2 separate regions of the Homo sapiens genome follow, and region 2 is linked to region 1. The links are contacts of gene promoters, found by promoter capture Hi-C in human tissues and cell types (Jung and others, 2019). All regions are on one chromosome and are shown on one strand. The core of a region is centred on a gene start or on the middle of the fragment in contact, and the rest is flanking DNA. Distances in the headings are between cores, read along the strand shown.

Evidence for each region. Contacts are between HindIII fragments. The study calls those that stand out against the background at their distance.
Region 2: a contact is called between a fragment that was not itself captured here and the fragment with the promoter of SLC5A4 in region 1, in 1 of the 25 tissues and cell types used here (lymphoblastoid cells).

What each region holds. Positions count from the first base shown.
Region 1 is chr22:32,252,302-32,258,619 of GRCh38, forward strand. SLC5A4 (solute carrier family 5 member 4) reads right to left here and starts at 3,046. Exons shown (of 15, transcript NM_014227.3): 1 at 2,894-3,046; 2 at 1,841-1,912. The coding sequence starts at 3,028. The region is part of intron 2 of SLC5A4-AS1 (SLC5A4 antisense RNA 1); the gene reads left to right. The HindIII fragment of the contact is 10,747 bases long and covers 1-6,318 here.
Region 2 is chr22:32,660,444-32,667,125 of GRCh38, forward strand. The region is part of intron 6 of SYN3 (synapsin III); the gene reads right to left. It overlaps LOC105373002 (a long non-coding RNA gene), which reads left to right. Exons shown (of 4, transcript XR_938176.4): 4 at 281-4,123. Among named protein-coding and RNA genes, the nearest start is that of SYN3-AS1, 89 kb to the left of the region's middle. RefSeq lists an enhancer at 485-1,684. The HindIII fragment of the contact is 5,159 bases long and covers 1,918-6,682 here.

The DNA of each region.
Region 1 (6,318 bases), core at 1,796-4,295:
GCAAACAATGGCCCCTGGGCTAATCCAGCCCACAGTCAGTTTCTGAATGGCCCACGAGCCAAGAATGTTTTTTTACATTTTTGCATTGTTAAATAATGGTAAACAATCTAAGTAAGCATAATATTTTGTGAAATGTGAAATTGTAAACTTGTGAAATTGTATGATTCAAATTTCATTGTCTGGAACACAGCCGTGCTCATTGGTTTTCCATATGGACTTGGGCTGCTTTTTGTCCTACAACAGCGGGGTTCTGTGGCTGCAATAGACTATATGTCTAGAAAACTCTAAAGTATTTACAATCTGGCCTTTTACAGAAAAGCTCGTTGGCCCCTGTCTTGGGGGAGCATTGGTCAATCTACTAAAATGCTCTGAGTTGAGCCTGTCCTTGGCCAAGCACTGCCAGATCTCCCATCAGCTCTTCTCCCTTTAATCATATGCAAAGACCCCAAGCTGGCTAGGAGGGAGTTTCTCTCCATCCTCCCAGCCACAGGACACTCTTTTCATTCATCCCCTCGCCATTACAGTGTCTGCTGTTCTAAAGACCCAGAGACCAAGAGAGGTCTCTTGAGTGGACGTAGATGAGCACCAGTCCTAGCAGAAGAGAATTGGGGTGTGGCTCTTCCCACTTTTTAAGGCCTCTGTAAAATCACTTTTTCTGCTCAGCTACATGGGGCCAGAGGATGGGATTGAGCTGGTTTTTGGCTTCAAGATCGCTTGAGCCTCCTTGCATGTTTCACTAAACAGTCCTAAAAATGCAATGTCTGATTGGATGTCCCAAATAAAATTCATTTCAAACTTCCAGTTGTTCTGCTTCAGTCACCCCAGCCAGGACAGTTGCCCATCTCCACTTCCCCTCATACCATTTAGAAAATGAGTCAGATCTGTGAAGGAAGCATTTGCTAAGCACCCACTGTATAATGTGATGCTGGGCTGACACTCTCCAGGTGCAGAGGGGAAGATACAGCCTCTGCTGCAGTGGGACCCTGGCTGAGGGGGTCACACATCAAAACCCCACAAGAACACCCACTGGGCAAGAATCAAGAGGCATCAGCATTAGCACCATCACAGGGAACACAACCAATAACTGCATGGGACATAGGGACCCATGGAGAGAGCCGGGAGGCTCCTCAGATGAGAAAGGGCTGAGGTGAGGCATTGAAAGAGGACAGCAGACAAGGGGAGGCCAATCCTAACAAGAGGGCCAGCATCAGCTCAGGACTGGCAACAAAGCAGGAATGCGCAGAGCTTGTAAGAAGCCAGGAGAAGACTCTTGATAAGGAGCAGAAGAAAAGAATATAAGGTGGGGCTGAGCTGGGGTCCTTCAGTGCCAGACTGAACCGGCTGTCATAATAGGTGACATATTGTAATGTCCTGGAATTACAGAGAGGAGCCATGAAGTCGGGGATTTAGGAAAGGAGCCCCAGCGAGTAGGCAACCAATGTACATCAGAAATGATCAACATTCCCAATGTTGTCTACATTCACTTTTTTTTTTTTGAGATGGAGTTTCATTCTTGTTGCCCAGGCTGGAGTGCAGTGGTGTGATCTAGGCTCACTGCAACCTCTGCCTCCCAGGTTCAAGTGATTATCCTGCCTCAGCCTCCTGAGTAGCTGGGATTACAGGCATACACACCACCACGTCCAGCTAATTTTTGTATTTTTAGTAGAGATGGTTTCACCATGTTAGTCAGGCTGGTCTCGAACTCCTGACCTCAGATGATCTGCCAGCCTTGGCCTCCCAAAGTGCTGGGATTACAGGCGTGAGACACCGCACCCAGCCTACATTCAGTTTTAAGCACACACACAGGAAATTTATCTCCAGAAAACTTCGATCCACTTACCGGCCACCAGGCCATATCACGACCAGCGAGGAAGAAGCCTCCTATAGTACCTCGGTTGGTCTTCAGCATCGCCTGAGCAGAAGGGAAGACAGGTGAGGGTCAAGCCCCAGCAAGTGCACCCAGACACCCCAGAGGCTCTGGCCAGGGTGCTGAGAGGGGTGACTTCAGCACTCCTACAGAGAGAAACATTTCGCTGGAAAGTGTTCTATAGCATCAAATTTTAAAGGACTTCAAAAACAGTCGCTTTGTAAAAACCCAGGGCTGGAAGAACTTAAAAAAATCATAATCCTTAACTTCTATCTTAACTGCTCTGATTATTCTCACTTATGAAAACCATGTGAGGTATCATTGAGCCATGCTTGCAATAAAATTTGCAGTCTCGGCCGGGCACGGTGGCTCACGCCTGTAATTCCAGCACTTTGGAGGGCCGAGGCGGGTGGATCACAAGGTCAAGAGATCGAGACCATCCTGGCCAACATGGTGAAACCCCGTCTCTACTAAAAATACAAAAAGTTAGCCGGGCGTGGTGGCGCATGCCTGTAGTCCCAGCTACTTGGGAGGCTGAGGCAGGAGAATGGCGTGAACCCAGGAGGCGGAGCTTGCAGTGAGCCAAGCAAGCGCCACTGCACTCCAGCCTGGACGACAGAGCAAGACTCCGTCTCAAAAAAAAAAAAAATTTGCAGTCTCAAATTTATTAAAATAAAAAAATTCAACATAAATGAAGAGTCCAACTCACTAAATCAGAAAGTGAGCAAACAACAAAAGAAAGCGAAAGAAATGCGATAATAAAAATACACTCTTTGTCCATTATGCCAGGTGTTGGGGATGCATAGTAAATCTGAAGGTCCCGGTGCTGGCTGTGTGCACACGATGGGGTTATTAGGAGAATACATTAGTTCATTGTAAGCGTTATTTATGCAACACACAAGAAAATGATTCTGATAACACAATGACATTTGTGAAAAGCTTTGTCACAACCACACCCCTTCCCCCCTTAAGATACCCCCTCCTAAACCTTGTGCCCACCCTAAAAGCCACTGGGATTCCACCTACCCACAGCCCAACAGCCATCACCACCAGAAAATAGATGACAATGACTGAGATGTCAGCAGCATTTCGGATGTGGTCAGACAATGGAGGTGGCTCTGGGGTCTCAGCTATGGTGCTGGGGCTAACCGTACTGGCCATGGCTGCAGGCAGTGCTATACCCATTCCACGCATGAGCCATCTTTATATAAGTTCTGGGTTAATGATCAGCCTCAGGCAGGTGGGGCGAGATATCAGAGCCAGCTCCTGGATATGGAGACCTTTAAACCTCTTCTCCAAAGCTGTGGCACCCCAGCCCTCCACCAGTGAGTGCTAGCCTAGGTAGAGTGTGAGAATGAGGGATGCAGGGCCAGAAATGAGGGGAGAATTTGAGGTGGAGCATGGGGCGTTCTCTGAGTGCAAAGACAGGGTCTTTAAAGAGATTTGCCCAGGTGGAGGGGGGATTTGAGAGAAATGAAGACAGACAAGGAGGGGAGAAGGACAGACTAGAAGGTACCAGAAACCAGCCAGGAGGGACCGAATGCAATGGTCCTTCAGAGAACAGATACAGTTTCTGACCAATGAGCTATATCCCTTGACAGTGAAGTGAATTATGCCTTTCGTGGATTCCAAAGTCCCACATTTCTCTGAAGTGGGTTTCATGTGCCACAAAAAGACATTGGTGGCCTGTATAGGAAAGGAAGTGGCTCTTCAAGCACCATATGTGGTGAGTTGAGGGCAGAGCTGTGGAGAGCGCTGGGTCAGAGGGTTGTACAAAGAGTGAATCAACCTGGAAGCATGTGATGGGGATCATGAGGACTCAGGAAACAAGACTCCTGGACTACAGCCAAGAAGAAGTTAGAAGTAAAGCCTATGCGGTGGCTGACACCTGTAATCCCAGCACTTTGGGAGGCCAAGGAGAGAGCATCACTTGAGGCCAGGAGTTCAAGACCAGCTTGGGCAACATAGGGAGTCTTTGTCTCTATAAAAATTAGCTGAGTGTGGTGATGCACACGTATGGTCCCAGCTACTTGGGAGGCTGAAGAGGGAGGATCACCTGTGACTGGGAGGTCAAAGCTATAGTGAGCCATGATCACGCCGCTGCACTCTAGCCTGGGCAACTGAGCAAGATCCTGTCTCAAAAACAAACAAAAAAAACAACAACAAAAAAACAAAACCAAAAACACACATGAAAAAACGGAAAGCCCAGAAATTCTTCTTTTATACTTCATTTTTTATTGTGGCAAAGCATACATAGCATAAAATTTACCATTTTAATCCCTTTTAAGTGTACAATTCATTGGCATTAAGTACATTTACAGTGTTATGCAGCCATTACCACTATCCATTTCCAGAACTTTTTCATCATCTCCAAACAGAAGTATGTACCCACTAAAAACTAACTCCCCATCCCTCCCTCTCTCCAGGCCCTGGTAACCTCTGTTATTCTTTCTTACTATATAAATTTGCCTATTCTAGGTACCTCATACAAATGAAATCATACAATATTTTCCTCTTTGGTTTATTTCACTTAGTATGACATTTTCAAGGTTCATCCATATTGTAGCATGTATCAGAATTTCCTTCCTTTTTAAGGCTGAATAATATTCCAATACTCATATATACCACATTTTGTTTATCCATTCAACTGTTGATGGGCATTCAGGTTCTTTCTATACTTGGCTATTATAAATAATGCTGCTGAGAACACTGGTGTGCAAGGATCTGTTTGAATCCCTACTTTCAATTCTTTTGAGTCTATATGTAGAAGTGGAATTGCATGTGATAATTCTGTGTTTAACTTTTTGTAGAACTGCCAAACTGTTGTTCACAGCAGCTGCACTATTTTACATTCTTTCCACAGTGCATAGGAGAGTTAATTTCTCCATATCCTCTTCAATACTTGTCATTTATGTTTTAATTATAGACAGGCTAGTAGGTATCAAGTGGGTATCACAATATAGTTTTGATTTACACTTCTAACACAATCACTAGTAGTGTTGATTTTTTCATGTGCTTATAGCCATTTGTGCATCTTCTTGGAGAGAGATATATTCAACTTCTTCATCCATTTAAAAATTATGTTGTATTCTTTTTTACACTGCTCCTTGTGGAGCAGGACTACCTCATTGGCAGTGTACCCAGAATAGCCTTATGTTGTATTTTTGTTGCTGTTGAATTGTAGAATTTCCTTTTTATTTCTCAGAGACAGGGTCTCATTCTGTCACCCAGGCTGGAGTGCAGTGAGGTAAGCATGGCTCAGTGCAGCCTCAACCTCCTGGGCTCAAGTGATCCTCCCATCTCAGCCTCCACCATAGCTGGGACCACAGGCACATGCCACCCATGCCTGGCTAACTTCATTTTTTTAGAGGTGGGGGTCTTACCATGTTGTCCAGGCTGGTCTTGAACACCTGGGCTCAAGTAATTCCTTGTCTCAGCCTCTCAAAGTGCTGGGATTACAGGCATGAGCCACTGAACCCAGCAAGGTTTTCTTTTTTTTTTAATTTTTTTTTTTGAGACAGAGTTTCACTCTTGTTGCCCAGGCTGGAGTGCAATGGCACAATCTTGGCTCACTGCAACCTCCATTTCCTGGGTTCAAGCGATTCTCCTGCCTCAGCCTCCCGAGTAGCTGGGATTACAGAAACACACCACCATGCCCGGCTATTTTTTGTATTTTTAGCAGAGATGGATGGGGTTTCACCATATTGACCAGGCTGGTCTTGAACTCCTGACCGCAGGTAATTCTCCCGCCTTGGCCTCCCAAAGTGCTGGGATTACAGGTGTGAGCCACCTCGCCCAGCTAAGGTTTTCTTTATGTATTCTTTATTTTATTTGTGAGACAGAGTCTTGCTCTGTTGCCCAGGCTGGAGGGTGGTGGTACAATCTCCACTCACTGCAGCCCCCACCTCGCAGGTTCAAGTGATTCTTCTCCTGCCTCAGCCTCCCGAGTTGCTGGGATTACAGGCATGCACCACCATTTCCAGCTAATTTTTGTATTTTTAGTGGAGATGGGGTTGTGTCATGTTGGCCAGGCTGGTCCTGAACTCCTGATCTCATGTCATCTGTGAATAGAGATGATCTTACTTCTTTTCCAATTAGAATGCCTTTTAATTATTTCTATTTCTTACCCACTTATTCTGGCTGGGACTTCCAATGCTATGTTGAATAGAGGAAGTATGGTTGATTCCAAAATATAAAATAACCCCCCACAACTCAATGGCAAAAACAAAAAAACTAATAAGCCAATTAAAATGGGCTAAAGACTTAGACATTTCTCAAAAAAACACAAACCAATAGCCAAGAGGTATATGAAAAATTGTTCAACGTCACTAATCGTCGGGAAAATGCAGATCAAAACCAGTATGAAATATCCCCTCACACCTGTCAGGATAGCTATTATAAAAAAAAGAAAAAAAAGACAAGTATCAAGGATGTGGAGAAATTGGAACCCT
Region 2 (6,682 bases), core at 3,247-5,746, 410 kb after region 1:
CCCTAACAGCTGGGGTCATTGAGAAACAGCACCCTGTGTTGGTGGAGGGAAGAGACCACTTCCTCTCTAATCCAGGGCCCATTCATACTGATCTTCTGGAAAGTTCTGGGGTTAAGGGGCTGGCGGGGAAGGAATGGTGGTCGGGCAAAGGAAAATGGCGCTAAATGCTCCATCCAACAAACATTTCTGGCTGCCTTCTGGAGCTCCCCTTGTCCCCAAGTCTGCATTTGGTGATAAATTTGCATCATTACTTATTTACCTGTCATTCTCTTTTGTCCAGTTGGCGCCATGTCTATTTCCTCTTGGGATCCATGGTGCCTACGCAGAGTCTGGCCCAGAGCAAGGATTAAGGGTCTTGGCCGAAAAAAAGTGAAGCTTATTTTAAGCAAGAACTTAAAACAGACTCTCACCTAAGGACCACCACCCAGGCGAGGGCTTCTTGGGCCATTAACATCCTTGACCTCAAAGATGGAAATTGCAAGATGGGAGACTGAGAGTGCCGTTCAAGGTTCCCTAATGTGAGCCATTGGAGACATGGCTGGGATCAACTTTAACCTATCTCTGCTCAAAAGGTGTCAACCTTGTCCACATCAGCCAGGATGTCAAGGTGGAGAGGATAGAAATTCCGGATCTGGCTGAGTCTAGTGCCCACCAGAGAAAACTTTGGCCTTTAATCTGGGATTTTTACATCATTTTCTTCTCTAACAGAGGGAGAGAGAGGGGCATGAGTTGGGTCCACCAATTGGGACAAGCAGGTCCAACCTGCTTCTCTGCTGTCTTCAATTCCATTCAGACCCCTACGCCCTGCTGCCTAGCACCTCCACCTTCCCCTCTGGGGCTCCAGCAAAGAGGAAGGCAGTCAGAACCACTCCAAAGGGTCCAATCTCCTTGCATTCCAGCCCTGGCCAAAGTCAGCCCGGGAACAAGTGGAGAGCCCCTCTTGAAGGAAGTGATTCAGAAACCATGATGGCCTGGCGGCCCGCCGTGACTCACAGCACATCAATGGGGGAATTGTCTGTAGAAGCCGAGAATTCCAAAGCTCTTTTCTTTCCTTTCTTACTTACTTTCTTTTTTTTCTTTCTTTCTTTCTTTTTTGCCCTCCCCTTGGCGGCATTGTGCAACAGCAGGGCTGCCCAGAAACATGTGGTTTTCATCATTGGCTCCACAGCTGCCCTAGAGCACTGTGGAGAAAATAAGATGGAGAGGGAACAGGATACAAGGGGACCTGTCGCGGTCAAGCAGGGTCCTTCTCTTTCCCCCCACCTTTCTTGTCAACACCAACATCCTCAAAGAGCATCTGGAACGGAAGGGAATAGAATTTTGGATCTGGGAGAAAACTTAGAGTATGTCTCATCCAATAACTCTATGTACAGATGAGGAAACTGAGGCCTCAAGAGGGGACGTAAGTGGCTTGGCAAATGTCCACAGCCAAGTTGCATCTTGCATCTTGCTGCAGTGACTGACTTTTCTTAGCCTCCAAGTCAGGAAATGTAGTTTGACAAAGGATAATTTTTTTCCATGGAATGTGACAGATGAAAAGTCATACCAAGTTTAGTTATAAATCTCTCCATTGTCCCTTTCCCCTTATCTACCAGTCTAGGGAGTCTGTTTTACCCGGAGTCATCTGTGGGGACACGTGCAAAATCTAAAGGTCTTTTTGCAGTTGTCATCTGATTGGTCATCTCTGTAGCATGTGAATTAATGTCCACAGGTTTCCAGGTATTCCCCCTATGCATCCACTCCTACCTCTGCAACGTCTCCTTTTCGGCATTCTTTTCTCCTCCCTTGGCTCTCAGATGCCTTAGTTCTATAGGGCTGTCTTATCTTAACTCATATCCATGTTCACGGTTTCAGTGGCTATCATTCAGCTGAGGACTCCCAAATCTTATCTATAGTCTGTTCATCATTCCTGAGCTACAGACGTGTACATACAGCTGCCTTCTCAGTGCCTTTCTTGGATTCCCCAGATGGAACTCATCATTTCCCTCCATAGCTCTTTGACTACTTTGATTTTATTACCAAGTAACTATGGGACCAATATAGTCAGTGTTCCAAAGCACATGCTTTGGCATCTTATTGACCTGGGCCTGACTCCCAGATATGCCACTTAACTGGCTACGGGTCTTTGGCCAAGTTACTGACCTTTCCAAGTTCCTCATCTGTAAAATGGGGGTAATAAAAATACCTACTTCATAAGGCTGTCATTAAGAGGAAATGAGTTAATACAATAGCATTAACACAATGCCTGGCACATAATAAATACTCAATTACTGCTGAGCTGTTATTTTTATTATGTACCTCAGCATCCTCCCAACTTGAGCCACACTGAATTCTTAGCACTTAAAATATTTACTGACCACATATGTGTTCCAAGCACTGTGCGTGGTATAGAATTACATGAGTGGATAGATGAATTTTCTGTTTTAAAATTGCCTTACAAAGTATCCCCATTTTACAGATGAGGAAGACAATCACTTTCTGAGAAAAGCAAACAACCAACCAAGAGATTCCCTCATGTTCCTTCTTACTAGCCAATAATTTATACTGAATATGATGACACAGAAAAAAAGAAAAAGGTAGGCCAATTCATAGTTCACTTTTCTTTTAGTCCTTACTTACTCAACAGTAAGCCTCAAGTAGAGGGGGTTGGAAGAATGTGTGTGCATCCAGAAGTGAAATAAAAACAGTTGAGTTAGTTTTGTGTAGCATGGTTGTGTAAGAGGAAACCCCTTTCGCTTGGCTCTCATTTTCTCTTGCTGCCGCCATGTAAGACGTGCCTTTCGCCTTCTGCCATGATTGTGAGGCCTCCCCAGCCATGTGAAACTGTAAGCCCATTCAACTTGTTTTTCTTTTCTTTTCTTCTCTTTTTTTTTTTTTTTGAGTCTCACTCTGTCGCCCAGGCTGGAGTGCAGTGGCGCCATCTTGGCTCACTGCAAGCTCCGCCTCCCGGGTTCACGCCATTCTCCTGCCTCAGCCGCCCGAATAGCTGGGAGTATAGGCACCCACCACCACGCCCGGCTAATTTTTTGTATTTTTAGTAGAGACGGGGTTTCACCGTGTTAGCCAGCATGGTCTCGATCTCCTGACCTCGTGATCCACCTGCCTCGGCCTCCCAAAGTGCTGGGATTACAGGCATGAGCCACCACGCCCAGCCTAAACCTCTTTTTCTTTATAAGTTACCCAGTCTCGGGTATGTCTTTATTAGCAGTGTGGGAACTGACTAATACAGCATGTAGGAACTATGAAATATGAATTGTGTAATTTTATTGATTCTGCTTATGAGTTCAATGTTTTCATATTTGCATTTAAAATTTTGCATTGCACAATGTAAAAGTAAATGGTAAAATCCACGTGAATAATGTAAAATTTCATTTATTTATTTTACCTAGAATGATATTAAATAGCAATTAAAACAGCATTATGACAAGTCAAGAGAGAGATAGTGGAAGGAAAGAAAAAGCTTTATATTTAGTATCTTTAACAGCATTCCCCCCCCACACTGCACATTTTGAAAAAGGGATCCTGCAAATTATGTAGCCATCCCTGACTAAGATAGGGAAATGTCTTTGAATTTTAGACTTGAGAAGAGACTATGAAAAGTCTCTCAGAGAACCCTGCTCTGCTCACCACCCATCATATTGTATGTGAAGATGGTAAGAGCTACAGGGAGTCTTAAGGTCACACAGGGAGCAAGTAGATAAACCAAGACTGGTGCCCATGCCATCTGACTCCATTCCTTCCTAGTCTAGCATTCTTCACCTAATGTGTGCTCTTCCTTCTGTCAGAAATCCCACCTTATGACTTGGAGATAAGATTTCCCCTTTGCAATTGAAACCATCCAATCAGTACTTGGCTGATGATGTGCAATTGATATGCCTTCCATCCAAGGCCAGGGAGACTTGGCCAGCACTTGGTTAAAAGTAATAAATAGTTTTCAGGGGAAAATCTAGTGGTCGGTGTTTTAGTCCTTGTCTTTCTTGACCTAACAGCAGCATTTATTTATTTATTTATTATTTTTTATTTCCATAGGTTTTTGGGGAACAGGAGGTGTCTGGTTACATGAATGAGTCCTTTAGTGGTGATATCTGAGATTTTGGTGCACCTGTCACTCGAGCAGCATACACTGTACTCAATTGGTCGCTTTTTTTTTTTTTTTTTTTTTTTTTTGACAGAGTCTCGCTCTGTCGCCCAGGCTGGAGTGCAGTGGTGCGATCTCGGCTCACTGCAAGCTCCGCCTCCTGGGTTCATGCCATTCTCCTGCCTCAGCCTCCCTTGTAGCTGGGACTACATGCGCCCGCCGCCAAGCCCGGCTAATTTTTTGTGTTTTTAGTAGAGACAGGGTTTCACTGTGTTAGCCAGGATGGTCTCGATCTCCTAACCTCATAATCTGCCCGCCTCGGCCTCCCAATCTGCCCGCCTCCACCTCCCAAAGTGCTGGGATTACAGGCGTGAACCACTGCACCCAGCCTAATTTGTAGTCTTTTATCCCTCAACCCCTCCCACCCTTTCCTCCCGAATCCCCAAAGTCCATTGTATAATGTATAATTCTTTTTTTTTTTTTTTTTTTTTTTTTTGGGGCAGAGCCTGTTCTGTCACCCAGGTTAGAGTGCAGTGGTGCCATCCCGGCTCACCACAACCTCTGCCTCCTGGTTCAAGGGATTCTCATGTCTCAGCCTCCCACATACCTGGGACTACAGGCATGTTCCACCACGCCTAGCTAATTTTTGTATTTTTAATAGAGACAGGGTTTTGCCATGTTGGCCAGGCTGGTCTTGAACTCCTGGCCTCAGGTGATCCACCCACCTTGGCCTCCCAAAGTACTAGGATTACAGGTGTGAGCCACCACACCTGGCCCATTGTATCCTCCTTATTATGCCTTGGCATCCTCATAGCCTAGCTCCTACTGATGAGTGAGGAACATATGATGTTTGGTTTTCTATTCCTGAGTTACTTCATTTAGAATAATGGTTTCCAATTCCATCCAGGTTGGTGCAAATACCATTATTTTATTCCTTCTTATGGCTGAGTAGTATGCCACAGTGTGTGTATATATATATATATATATATGTCTCACATATATCACAGATTTTTATCCATTAATTTCATTGATTAATAGGCATTTGGGCTGGTTCCATATTTTTGCAATCGCGAATTTTTAGCAGCAGAATTTAATCACGCGCTCTTCTGTCAAACACTTGTGTGTTTTGGCCTTTAGGACCCAACCTCCTACCTTGCTGGCTGCCCTCCCTTAGTCGCCATCACAGATTCCCCTCTACCTTCCTGACTTTGTATCAGTGAAGTGTCTCAGGGGTCAGCTCTCAGACCTTTTCTCTTTTTCTGTCCATACTCATTCCTTTAGTAACCTCATGTAGCCTAATGACTCTTAACACTATCTATATGCTGATTACTCATCTGTTTATACTTCTAGCCCTGACCTCTCCCTGAATTTGTTCTAACATGTCTAACTGCTTTCTTGACATCTGCACTCTGATGTCCAACGAAATCACACACTATATCTGTAACTGAGCCCTTGAATCTCTCCCCCAGCTCCAAACTAAGTCCTACTTCAGTTAATGGCAGCATCAGGTCAAAACCCTGCGGCTCTCTCGATGCTTTCTCATCTTTCACACCTCACACCCAATCCATGAGCAAATCCTAAAGCCTCTACCTTCAAAATACATTCAGAATATGGTCATTTTCCTCCACCATTACTGCTTCACCTTGGCCCAAATCACCTGCATTATGCCAGTAATCTTTGAATTGGTCTCATTTTGGTCCTCATCTCTCTTTTACCCAGAAGGGTCTCCTTGAACCACATGTCGGAGTGTGTCACTCCTCTATTCAAAACCTCTCAATAGTTTCTCATCTTACTCTAAAGAATAACCCAAACCAAACAATCCAAACAAGCCACAGAGCCTGACACCTTCAGGCATTCAGCACCAGGGCCTTAGGACTTCAGCTCTCTTGTCCCCTTTGTCCCCTCTCTCACTCTGCTCTGGCCATGTGGCCACCTTGCTCTTTCTCCAACTCACTGAGGACTCTCCCACCTCAGGCCCTTCGTCCTTGCTGGCCCTCTCCCTGGAATGCTCTTTCCCCAGGAATCTGGAAGGCTCCTTCCTTCACCTGCTATGGGTCATTATCAGATGTAACCCCTCTCATGAGGCCTTCTCTGGTCACCTTGTTTAACACGGTGGCCCCTTCTGCTCCCCATGCACATTCCCCATCTCCCATCCCTGATTTTTATTCCCCATAACACTTATCTCCATCTAACATGCCATCCAGTTGACTTTATTTTCTGTTCATTGTCTGTTTCCCCCTGTTGGAATGTAATTGCTTATTTGTCTGTCTTGATGTATTTTGTTCAAATATCTAAGCCTGCCTTGCGGTGGGCTGTGGTCTAGGTAACGTGATGGCCAAGGATTTACCAAGGAATAATGAACCACCTCCCCACCTCGACCAAGCTCCATGAATGTCTTTGACTCCATATTCCAGCCTCTACCTGGAATGTCCTTTGTCTGTTTCTCTGAATACCATGCCATCCTTCAAGGTCTGGTTGAAAAGTGATCTCCTCACGGAACACAAGGTCAGGAGATCAAGACCATCCTGGCTAACACAGTGAAACCCTGCTAAATTATGCCCCTTTTTGTTTTATTCACAGACTTTAGAACCAAATCTCAGGGTA